Regions from separate parts of the Homo sapiens genome. Here all the other regions are linked to region 2. Evidence: promoter capture Hi-C in human tissues and cell types (Jung and others, 2019). All regions are on one chromosome and are shown on one strand. The core of a region is centred on a gene start or on the middle of the fragment in contact, and the rest is flanking DNA. Distances in the headings are between cores, read along the strand shown.

What was found. Contacts are between HindIII fragments. The study calls those that stand out against the background at their distance.
Region 1: a fragment that was not itself captured here is called in contact with the fragment with the promoter of SCAP in region 2 in 1 of the 25 tissues and cell types used here (dorsolateral prefrontal cortex).
Region 3: a contact is called between a fragment that was not itself captured here and the fragment with the promoter of SCAP in region 2, in 1 of the 25 tissues and cell types used here (dorsolateral prefrontal cortex).

What each region holds. Positions count from the first base shown.
Region 1 is chr3:48,270,902-48,274,069 of GRCh38, forward strand. ZNF589 (zinc finger protein 589) reads left to right here. Exons shown (of 4, transcript NM_016089.3): 4 at 1-89. Among named protein-coding and RNA genes, the nearest start is that of NME6, 29 kb to the right of the region's middle. The HindIII fragment of the contact is 5,059 bases long and covers 1-3,168 here.
Region 2 is chr3:47,474,043-47,477,277 of GRCh38, forward strand. SCAP (SREBF chaperone) reads right to left here and starts at 1,899. Exons shown (of 23, transcript NM_012235.4): 1 at 1,757-1,899. It overlaps LOC105377073 (a long non-coding RNA gene), which reads left to right and starts at 1,903. Exons shown (of 3, transcript XR_940821.3): 1 at 1,903-2,322; 2 at 2,600-2,660. RefSeq lists a silencer at 1,447-1,986. The HindIII fragment of the contact is 11,347 bases long and covers 1-3,235 here.
Region 3 is chr3:48,158,180-48,161,418 of GRCh38, forward strand. CDC25A (cell division cycle 25A) reads right to left here. Exons shown (of 15, transcript NM_001789.3): 14 at 1,165-1,276; 15 at 1-906. The coding sequence ends at 766. It also overlaps the pseudogene SNRPFP4. Among named protein-coding and RNA genes, the nearest start is that of CDC25A, 29 kb to the right of the region's middle. The HindIII fragment of the contact is 7,323 bases long and covers 1-3,239 here.

The sequences.
Region 1 (3,168 bases), core at 40-2,539, 800 kb after region 2:
CTAATGTGTCTGGAATTGGTGGGTTCTTGGTCTTGCTGACTTCAAGAATGAAGCCGTGGACCCTCACGGTGAGTGTTACAATTCTTAAACATGGTGTGTCTGGAGTTTGTTCCTTCTGATGTTCGGACGTGTCCAGAGTTTCTAACTTCTGGTGGGTTTGTGGTCTCGCTTAGGAGTGAAGCTGCAGACCTTAGCAGTGTTACGGCTCTTAAAGGCAGCGCATCTGGAGTTGTTAGTTCCTTCCGGTGGGTTCGTGGTCTTGCTGGTTTCAGGAGTGAAGCTGCGGACCTTTGCGGTTAGTGTTACAGCTCTTAAAGGCGGCGCGGACCCAAAGAGTGACCAGCAGGAAGATTTATTGTGAAGAGTGAAAAAACAAAGCTTCCACAGCATGGAAGGGGACCTGAGTGGCTTGCCGCTGCTGGCTCGGGTAGCCTGCTTTTATCCCCTTATCCGGCCCCACCCACATCCTGCTGATTGGTCCATTTTACAGAGAGCATATTGGTCCGTTTTGACAGGGTGCTGATTGGTGCATTTACAATCCCTGAGCTAGACACAGAGTGCTGATTGGTGCATTTACAAGCCTCTAGCTAGACAAAAATTTTCCAAGTCCCCACTAGATTAGCTAGACACGCGTTTACAAACCTTTAGCTAGACACAGTGCTGATTGGTGCGTTTACAATCCTTTAGCTAGACACAAGTTCTCCAAGTCCCCGCTAGATTAGCTAGACACAGAGCACTGATTGGTGCGTTTACAAACCTTGAGCTAGACACAGAGTGCTGATTGGTGCATTTACAATCCTCTAGCTAGACATAAAAGTTTTCCAAGTCCCCACCAGGTTAGTTAGATACAGAGTGCTGATTGGTGCATCCACAAACCCCGAGCTAGACAGAGAGTGCTGCTTGGTGCATATACAATCCTCCAGCTAGACAAAAGTTCTCCAAGACCCCACCCAACTCAGGAGCCCAGCTGACTTCCCCTAGTGGATCCCGCACTGGGGCTGTGGGTGGAGCTGCCTGCTAGTCCTGTGCCTCACACCTGCACACCTCAGCCCTTGGGCGGTCGATGGGACGGGCAGCGCCTGTCGGGGAGTCTCGGGCTGCATGCGAGCCCATGGCGGTCGGGGGTGGCTTGGGCATGGCAGGCCGCAGGTCCCAAGCCCTGCCTCATGGGGAGGCGGCTGAGGCCCGGTGAGAATTCAAGTGCGGCGTGGGCAGGCTGTCAGTGCTGGGGGACCCGGTGCACCCTCTGCAGCTGCTGGCCCGGGTGCTAAGCCCCTTAATGCCTGGGGCCTGTGGTGCCGGCCGGCCGCTCCGAGTGTGGGGGCCCCCGAGCCTGCGCCCACCCGGAACTCATGCTGGCCTGCGAGCCCCATGCGCAGCCCTGGTTCCCACCTGCGCCTCTCCCTCCACACCTCTCTGCCAGCCAAGGGAGCTGGCTCCGGCCTCGACCAACCCAGAGAGGGGCTCCCACAGTGCAGCGGCTGGCTAAAGGGCTCCTCAAGCGTGGCCAGAGCGGACGCTGAGGCCGGGGAGGCGCTGAGAGTGAGCGAGGGCTGCTAACACGTTGTCACCTCTCACTATTGCTGCCCCTTTCCCATGGCCTGAGCTAAAAGCCATAGAAAGTGTGTGTATGTGTGTGTGTTTAGGGGTTGCTGGGCAGGGGAAGGGTGGGACACCATCATTCCACAAGACCTCGAAGTTACTCCTCCCATAGAAAAATGAAAGTGGAAAAATTAGTGATCATACATCTACTTTAAACATGAGAGGGAGAAAAAAGTGTTCATTTTCTATTAAAATCCATGTAGGCACTGTCGAGATACCACACAGATCTGGTCCGGCAAGAGGACTGTCAGGTCCAGGCAGTCATAGGAAGAGATTGTAAGCTGCAGTAAATCTGAGTCTCTCTTCAAAGGGTTTAGCCTGCTAACTTCCTTATCCTTGTTCTCAAATTCAACTTTCTTGTTCTTCCTTACCCCTAGTTACTGTAAACAGCCTACCCCATTCTCGTCAGCTTTAATCAATAATTCACATCTGTTCCCTTGGTTACCTGTACCCATTGTTCCCCCGAAACTGCACGCCTCACACTCCACCTCTGTAACTCATGTCCCCCTCCCCTTCTATAGTTAGGAAAATATGTACAAGTGGCCAATTGGGTCAGCTCAGATTGTGCAGTCTGACCCCAGCCCATGGGGGGAGTGACACAGAGATAGGGACTGTGTTAAGGATAAAAATCCCCTGGTCTCCTTTGTTCTCTGTGCTCTTGTGATCTTGATTGACACAAGTGGCACCGTTCCGCAGAAGTAAATTACCTTGCTGAGAGAAATTAAACTTTTGCCTGAGTGCTGGTTTTACTTCATGGCACCGAGCATTTCATCCTAGAGCATTTTATATCCAACAATTCTGGGGGCTCGTCTGGGATTCCCATTCTCCTTCGGGAAGGGGTCTTCAGTCACCCTACCCAGGGGAGACACTTCCCACTGCCCTGTTGCGGTGGCCCTCAGGGATGGGAGATCGAGACCCACCTGTTGTGACGAATAAACCTGGACTCTCAGCAACGCGGGGAAGAGAGACTTGCAATACTGCGGCGACCAGGTAAACTGCACAGACCAAGGTAGAAAACGTCGCAGGGGCAACAAATTACTTCTTTAGTGGTTTTGCGGGGGTCGGGGCATTCTGGAGGTTGAAAGTGCATGAATGGTAACAAGCACTACTGCTGTGCGGAGTGAGACCAATCTGCAGTTCCGTGGTCATCTCATATGGCTTAGGGCGGCCCTTTGGGGGTCCCGTCAGGGGTTTATACTGACCCCCCATGAATGCTAAAAGTGACCTGGAACATTCCCTCAAGGGAAGCGGCCAGAGCGTGAAGGTTGCAGTGAAAGAAGGGTGCAAGGAATCTCCAGCAGGTGGAGCTAAAGGATAGGCGAATTGTGCCTTAGCAAAGCTTCCAGTGAAGGACAGGCAAGAGACCCCTAATACGAGGGGTTGAGCCAGAAGGAACCCCCCAAATAGGCAGGAGATCCCTAATATGAGGGGTTGAGCCACAGAAAGCCCCCACTAGGCAAGAGATTCCTAATACGAGGGATTGAGCCTAGCCAGGACCCAGTATGGTAAATAATACAAGCAAAAAAGATAAAGTTAGCAACAAAGATATACCACTGATAGTCCCCA
Region 2 (3,235 bases), core at 649-3,148:
ATCATGAGGTCAGGAGATAGAGACGATCCTGGCTAACACGGTGAAACCCCGTCTCTACTAAAAATACAAAAAAGTAGCCGGGCATGGTGGCGGGCGCCTGTAGTCCCAGCTACTTGGGAGGCTGAGGCAGGAGAATCGCTTGAACCCGGCAGGCGGAGGGTGCAGTGAGCCGAGATGGCGCCACTGCACTCCAGCCTGGGCGACAGAGCGAGACTCCATCTCAAAAAAAAAAAGAAAGAAAGAAAAGAGAGAGCATTCAAACATCAGATCAGTTCATAATAAATTTAAAAAGCCTAATTCTTTCCATTTCAATTTATGACCAAAAGAATAAATATGGAAATATATTTATACAGTGTTAAATATATTTATATAGTGTTTTTTACATCATGTGCTCAGTGGGAATACTGCAAATGTGTAAAACACCTAAAATGTAAACTATATTAACACACATTTTAAAAGATACAGGTCTTGGCCGGGCACGGTGGTTCACGCCTGTAATACCAACACTTTGGGAGGCCAAGGCTTGTATAATGCTTGAGCCCAGGAGTTAAAGACCAGCCTGGGCAACACAGCAAGACCCCCATCTCTACAAAAAAATACAAAAATTAGCCGGGCGTGGTGGCACACACCTGCTGTCCCAGCTACTGGGGAGGCTGAGGTGGGAGGATCACCTGAGCCCAGGAAATCAAGGCTGCAGTGAGCCGAGATCGCGCCACTGCACTCCAGCCTGGGAGACAGAGTGAGACCCTGTCTCCAAACAAACAAACAAAAAACAAGTCTTTAGGCATCACTGAGGAACACCTAAAATGGATACAGCACTAACTAGACACCCTCGACCCTGACTCCCTAATAAAAGCGTCAGTCTTTTGCTCAATATCCTGACCTGACAGCAAACCAATAAAGACACGGCATAACCAAACTCCACAAATTTTTGGCCAAATAAAAGAAACACACGCAACGCTAACATTAAACCTTTTCTATGGCCGCTTCACGATAAGTATTACAAAATCCCCAGAAAGAGTTTATTCACCTAGCTCCGACTGTCGCCATACAAGGTGGAGCAGTGAGTGACCCGAACCAGGGGCTGACCCCTGCCAGAGCCCCCACAGCGACTCACTGCCCCCCCCTCCGCATTCCCATCTGCACAACTTTCTGTGATTCAAACAGTCCGGAGCCAGGGCTCCCTGCAACTAACGCTATCGTGACATTATAAGCCGGTTAAATACTGAGGTCATAAACCCACTCAGAAGTAAACAGAAGCAACATTAGTGAGCAAAGTTGAGGTTTAAGCAATACGGAAAACTAGAAACCAAGCAAAACCAGCAAAGCAACTAGCGTTGTCTCTCAATAAGATCTTCCAAAAGAGGCAAAGTGGAGAACCTGCTCTCCCCCGCACTCCGGAAAACCCAAACAGCACCAAAGCAGGTTCTACAACAGCTTCCCGGAGCAACTAGGCCAGGGGATGCGACGCCGCGCATCTCCCCCCGTCACACCAGGGGCCCGCGGAGGTCTGGTGGGGACGCGGAGCTCCAGGGGCCGGCCGGTGCAGGGACACGGCCGGGTTGGGGGTGGGGACGCGCGGCCCTGCCTCCTTGCCGGCCTGCGGTCTCCAGGGCCGGCCCGCACGGCTGCTGGACAGCGCCATGCCCACGCACCCCCGAACCTAGCGGCCCCCATTCCGGAACTCCCAGCTCCACGCGGCTGGGGTCGAGCTGGGGCCCGCGGGCAGGCGCCCTGAGCACCCGCGTGACGGTACCTGTGGTGGCAGCACCTCCCAAGCTGCGGCGGCGGCGGCGGCGGCGACGGGGGCGGCAGCAGGGGCGGAGCGCGGCGTGCGCGCTCTCGGCCCGCAGTCCGGTGCGTGGCGCCCTCCCTCTCTCTCCTGGCCGCCGGGTGCCCGCCCCTTCACCTCTCACCTCCTACCTTTACCCTCCCGCCCCGCCGCCCTCCGCACGTGCGCCCAGCGGCGTGCGCATGCGTAGTCGAACCACATTCGCGTCTCCCGTTCGCCCTCTGGTGGACACCGGAGGGAAGTATGGACGGCCGGGCCGGGCCGGGCCGGGCGGAGCGTGAAGCCGGGTTAGGGCCCGCCGGGTTTGGGCCCACCGGCTCTCATCGGTCATCAAGAACTTGCAGAAAGCCGGGCACGGTGGCTCGCGGTTGTAATCCCAACACTGTGGGAGTCCAAGGCGCGAAGATCGCTTGAGCCGAGGAGTTAGAGACCAACTTGGGCAACGTAGGAGACCTCCGTCTCCACAAGTAAAATTAATTAGCCGGCTGTGGTGGCGCGCACCTGTGGTCCCAGCTACTCAGGAGGCTGAGGTAGGAGGATCACCTGAGCCCGGGAGGTCGAGGCCACAGTGAGACAAAAAACAAAAAACCCACCCTGCACAAGATGCTCATGTTCCCTGTTTTATAATGGCAAAAAATTAGAAGCAGCTGGGCCGAGATACACTGCAAATGCAGATGAGAAGAATAAATAATGTCCATAAAACTAGTTTCCCTATAGACATTTAAAAGCATAAGTTGACATTTAACCATTTTCCACAGGGAACAGGTATTTGTTATAATAGCAACAGCTACGTTCACTGTTTACTAGGTGTCAGTTGCGGAGCTGGTATTGTACATGTCCTCGCATTTGGCCCTCCTGAAAATCCGAGGTAGGTCTTGTTACAGGGCCTCACAGAAGGGGAAGGGGAGGCTGCCTCCCCTCGAGGGAAACACAGGTCCCCACCTGCCCAGCTCTGGCCCAACTAGAGACGCTGCCCGGACCACTCTGGGGGGACTTTGATCATGCTACTGCATGCCCTTGCTGTACCCAGGTCTTGTGTCAGAGGTAAGCCTCCCCTCAGCCCCTGCCTACTGCCCGAGACACCCGCACCCACCCCAGGGCTACCTGGATAAGGCAGGCCCTGTACCTGCCCTCAAAGGCACCAGCAAACTTCTCTGGGAGTTCCAGAAAGTGCAGATCTAGTCACCAATGCAAGGCAGAAATTAGAGGTGGCCCTTCTGACCGCACCAGCCCCCGACCCACTACACATTCTTCAGATACCTCCTCCTAAAACCCAGTTCCCACCGGACTCTGGCCTCCCTCCTTGCCCACCACACTATTGTCACAATGAAAGTAACAATGGGGACAGTGGGCCTTGGCCCAAAGTGACTTTCAGGGTTATGACATTTTCAGCATTGTCTTTTGGCTTAATATGGGAATTTTGATCCTATAAAGAAAGTATTC
Region 3 (3,239 bases), core at 82-2,581, 680 kb after region 2:
TGGTGGGTCTGGGAGATTTAGCTTATGTCAGGCAGCCAAGCCTGGGTCCAACGCTCTCACCAGGACCTCAGTTCTTGGCTTAAATAGCAGCAGCCCCAGTACCACAGCGCCTCCTGGGGGTGACAGAGCACCTAGCTTTCTGTCCGATAACTTATAACAGGTTTGCATTTTCTTACCCACTTCTTTTTTTTTTTTAAATTAAAAGCCGAGGTAGTCCCTGGGATAATAAAACCCTACCTAGAATGGCAGTATTTCAACCTAATGAAGCAGTAAAATAAGTCTCCAGGAGTTAGAAAAAAAAATAAAATAAAGTGATTGATGAAGTTGAATAAATTAAACATATGGATTATCCCACAAAGACCTTTCCTTCCCAGGTTGTCTTTGCTATTTGGCCAGCAGCATTTCTGTGTAACTTCTCTACTCCCCTCCGTCTCCTCTCCCCTCATGAGATGGCTGGAGCCCGATAAGGCCCCGGCTGGTTCATCCCACTGTGGCTCAGAGCAGCTTGACACGGTGCTCAGAACTGCATTGTGGCACAGTTCTGATATGGACGGAGGACGTCTAACAGGGACAGAAGAGGCGTAGCCAGCAAGATGCCCTGGGCTCCAACCTTGGGAGTGTGGGAGGTAGGTTTAAGGCATGGAAGTCCCAGGCCCCCTCTCCAAATGTCACACAGCTGTCCCCTTTGCTTAAGTTTCTCTGCAGCAAAGAGGGTAAAGGGGGATGGAGGGAAGCTTGGGCTGCTGCTGGCTGGTCCTGCCGCCCTCAGAGCTTCTTCAGACGACTGTACATCTCCCTCTTGCTCTTCTCCCCTGCCCAGGTCCGGCTCTTGGTGCGGAACTTCTTCAGGTCTTCTTTAAAGTCCTCGTGGTGCATGGGCCGGTAGCTAGGGGGCTCACAGTAAGACTGAGGGGACAGGAGAGAATAAGGTTAGGGTACACCTGCCTCACACCCACAACCTGGTTTCCTCTCTGCCTAGGGCTACAAGGCTGAAAGCGGCCAGGCAGACCTAGGGAGCCAGTTCTACAGGGGCTTTCTTTGGGTTCAGCAGATACCCACCTTGTCCCCCGACCCCTGGAAAGAAAGTCATGACCACCAGACAGATCCATTAGTCTACCACTGGGGGCAGGGGAGGAGAGATGCTCTCCACAACCCCAGTCTTACCTGGCATTTCATAAAGAACTCCTTGTATCCCCCCTTCAGGACATACAGCTCAGGGTAGTGGAGTTTGGGGTATTCATTACCCAGGCGATCTCTCTCTCTCACATACCGGCACCTAGTCAGGGGAAGGAAGGCCAAAGCAGGGTTAGCTTTTCCAGCACAGCAACAAGGCAACGCAGTCAAAGCAGCAGTTGTGGTCTAAGTCCCCCTTATACACATCTTCCCAACTTGACATTTATTCTTAGAAACAATCAGTGCTGAGTTGCAAGTTCCTGGCCACATGAGCAGCACTCACAGCCAGTGCCAGTAGATGGTCTCTTCCCCAATTTTCCTTTCTCCAACAATCCTAGCATCTGAGTCCTGCCCAGCACCTTCACCACCACAGTTTGTGGCAAGTTTTCACTATATGAGCCAGCTTCCCCTTGCTTTCTCCACCCCAGCCTTCTCTTCAGCCAGGCTCCCTCACTCACCTCCTTCTACATAAGTGGGCTTGTTTCTTTCTGTGGCTTTTAAAGAGGCTGAACTTGCTCCTGCCTCGGGGCCCTGTTTCTATCCTCTACTTGGACTGAATGGTCTTCAATATCCAGCCAATGGCTGCTTACTGCCTCGCCCTTGGTGAAAAAGCCCGAGGCCCCAAGTCCTTCAGAGGCCTACAGCTCTACAGGCCCCTACTGCTGCTCTGCCCCTTGTTCACCCCACGCCAGCCCCTGCAGCCCCACTACTGTTCCTCCAGCCTGCCTGGGAGCTCCACCACTGGCCTTATTTTCCTCTGAAGCACCTTCTTTTTTCTGAGACAGAATCTCACTCTGTCACCAGGCTGGAGTGCAAGGGCGTGACCTCAGGCTCACTGCAATCTCCGTCTCCCGGGTTCAAGCAATTCTCCTGCCTCAGCCTCCCAAATAGCTGGGACTACAGGCGCGTGCCACCGCCCAGCTGATTTTTGTATGTTTAGTAGAGATGGGGCTTCACCATGTTGGCCAGGATGGTCTCGACCTCTTGACCTTGTGATCCACCTGCCTTGGCCTCCCAAAGTGTTGGGATTACAGGAGTTAGCCACCGCACCCAGTCACCTTTTTTTTTTTTTTTTTGAGATGGAGTCTCACTCTGTCGCCCAGGCTGGAGTGCACTGGCGCGATCTCGGCTCACTGCAACCTCTGCCTCCTGGGTTCAAGGGATGCTCCTGCCTCAGCCTCCAAAGTAGCTGGGATTACAGGTGTCCGCCACCACGCCTGGCTAATTTTTGTATTTTTAGTAGAGACGGGATTTCACCATGTTGGCCAGGCTGGTCTCGATCTCCTGTCCACTCCGAAATGTAAGTTCCATGAAGGCAGAGATTTTTTGGTCTGTTTTGTTCACTGCTCTTCTCCCTCAGTATCTAGAAAGGTATCTGGTACACAAGAGCCAAGAGTATCTGCTGATTTTCTCTTGAAGCTCAGTGGTTTGGGGCCTTTGTTAGCTGCTCATGAGGGATGGGCAGCAGCTTCCTCTGCAGCACGTAGCTTAAACCATTTGCCTGTGGTTAAAAGGAGTTTGGCTGGGCGCGGTGGCTCACACCTGTAATTCCAGCACTTTGGGAGGCTGAGGCGGTGGATCACGAGGTCAGGAGTTCGAGACCAGCCTGGCCAAGATAGTGAAACCCTGTGTCTACTAAAACTACAAAAAATTAGCTGGGCGTGGTGGCAGGTGCCTGTAATCCCAGCTACTTGGGAGGCTGAGGCAGAGAAATGCTTGAACCCGGGAGGAGGAGGCTGCAGTGAGCCGAGATTGTGCCACTGCATTCCAGCCTGGGCGAAAGGGCGAGATTCCAACTCAAAAAAAAAAAAAAAAAAAAAAAAGAGTTCACCTGTGAATCCCAAATCTTTCCCCAGTGGAACAACAGAAAGCCAGTGATGGCGAAACTCAAGTGGGGAACGAAGTGTAAGGGGTATCTGTAGATGGTGATATAAACATGCAGCTTGCAAATACAGAATACAGAGATGGGGCGTTTTCTGTATATCTAGGTGAAGTTTCAATATGGTATAATAATGTCCTTTATATTAGAGGTGTTAAAGAGGAAGATGGGGAAATGAGAGATTAAG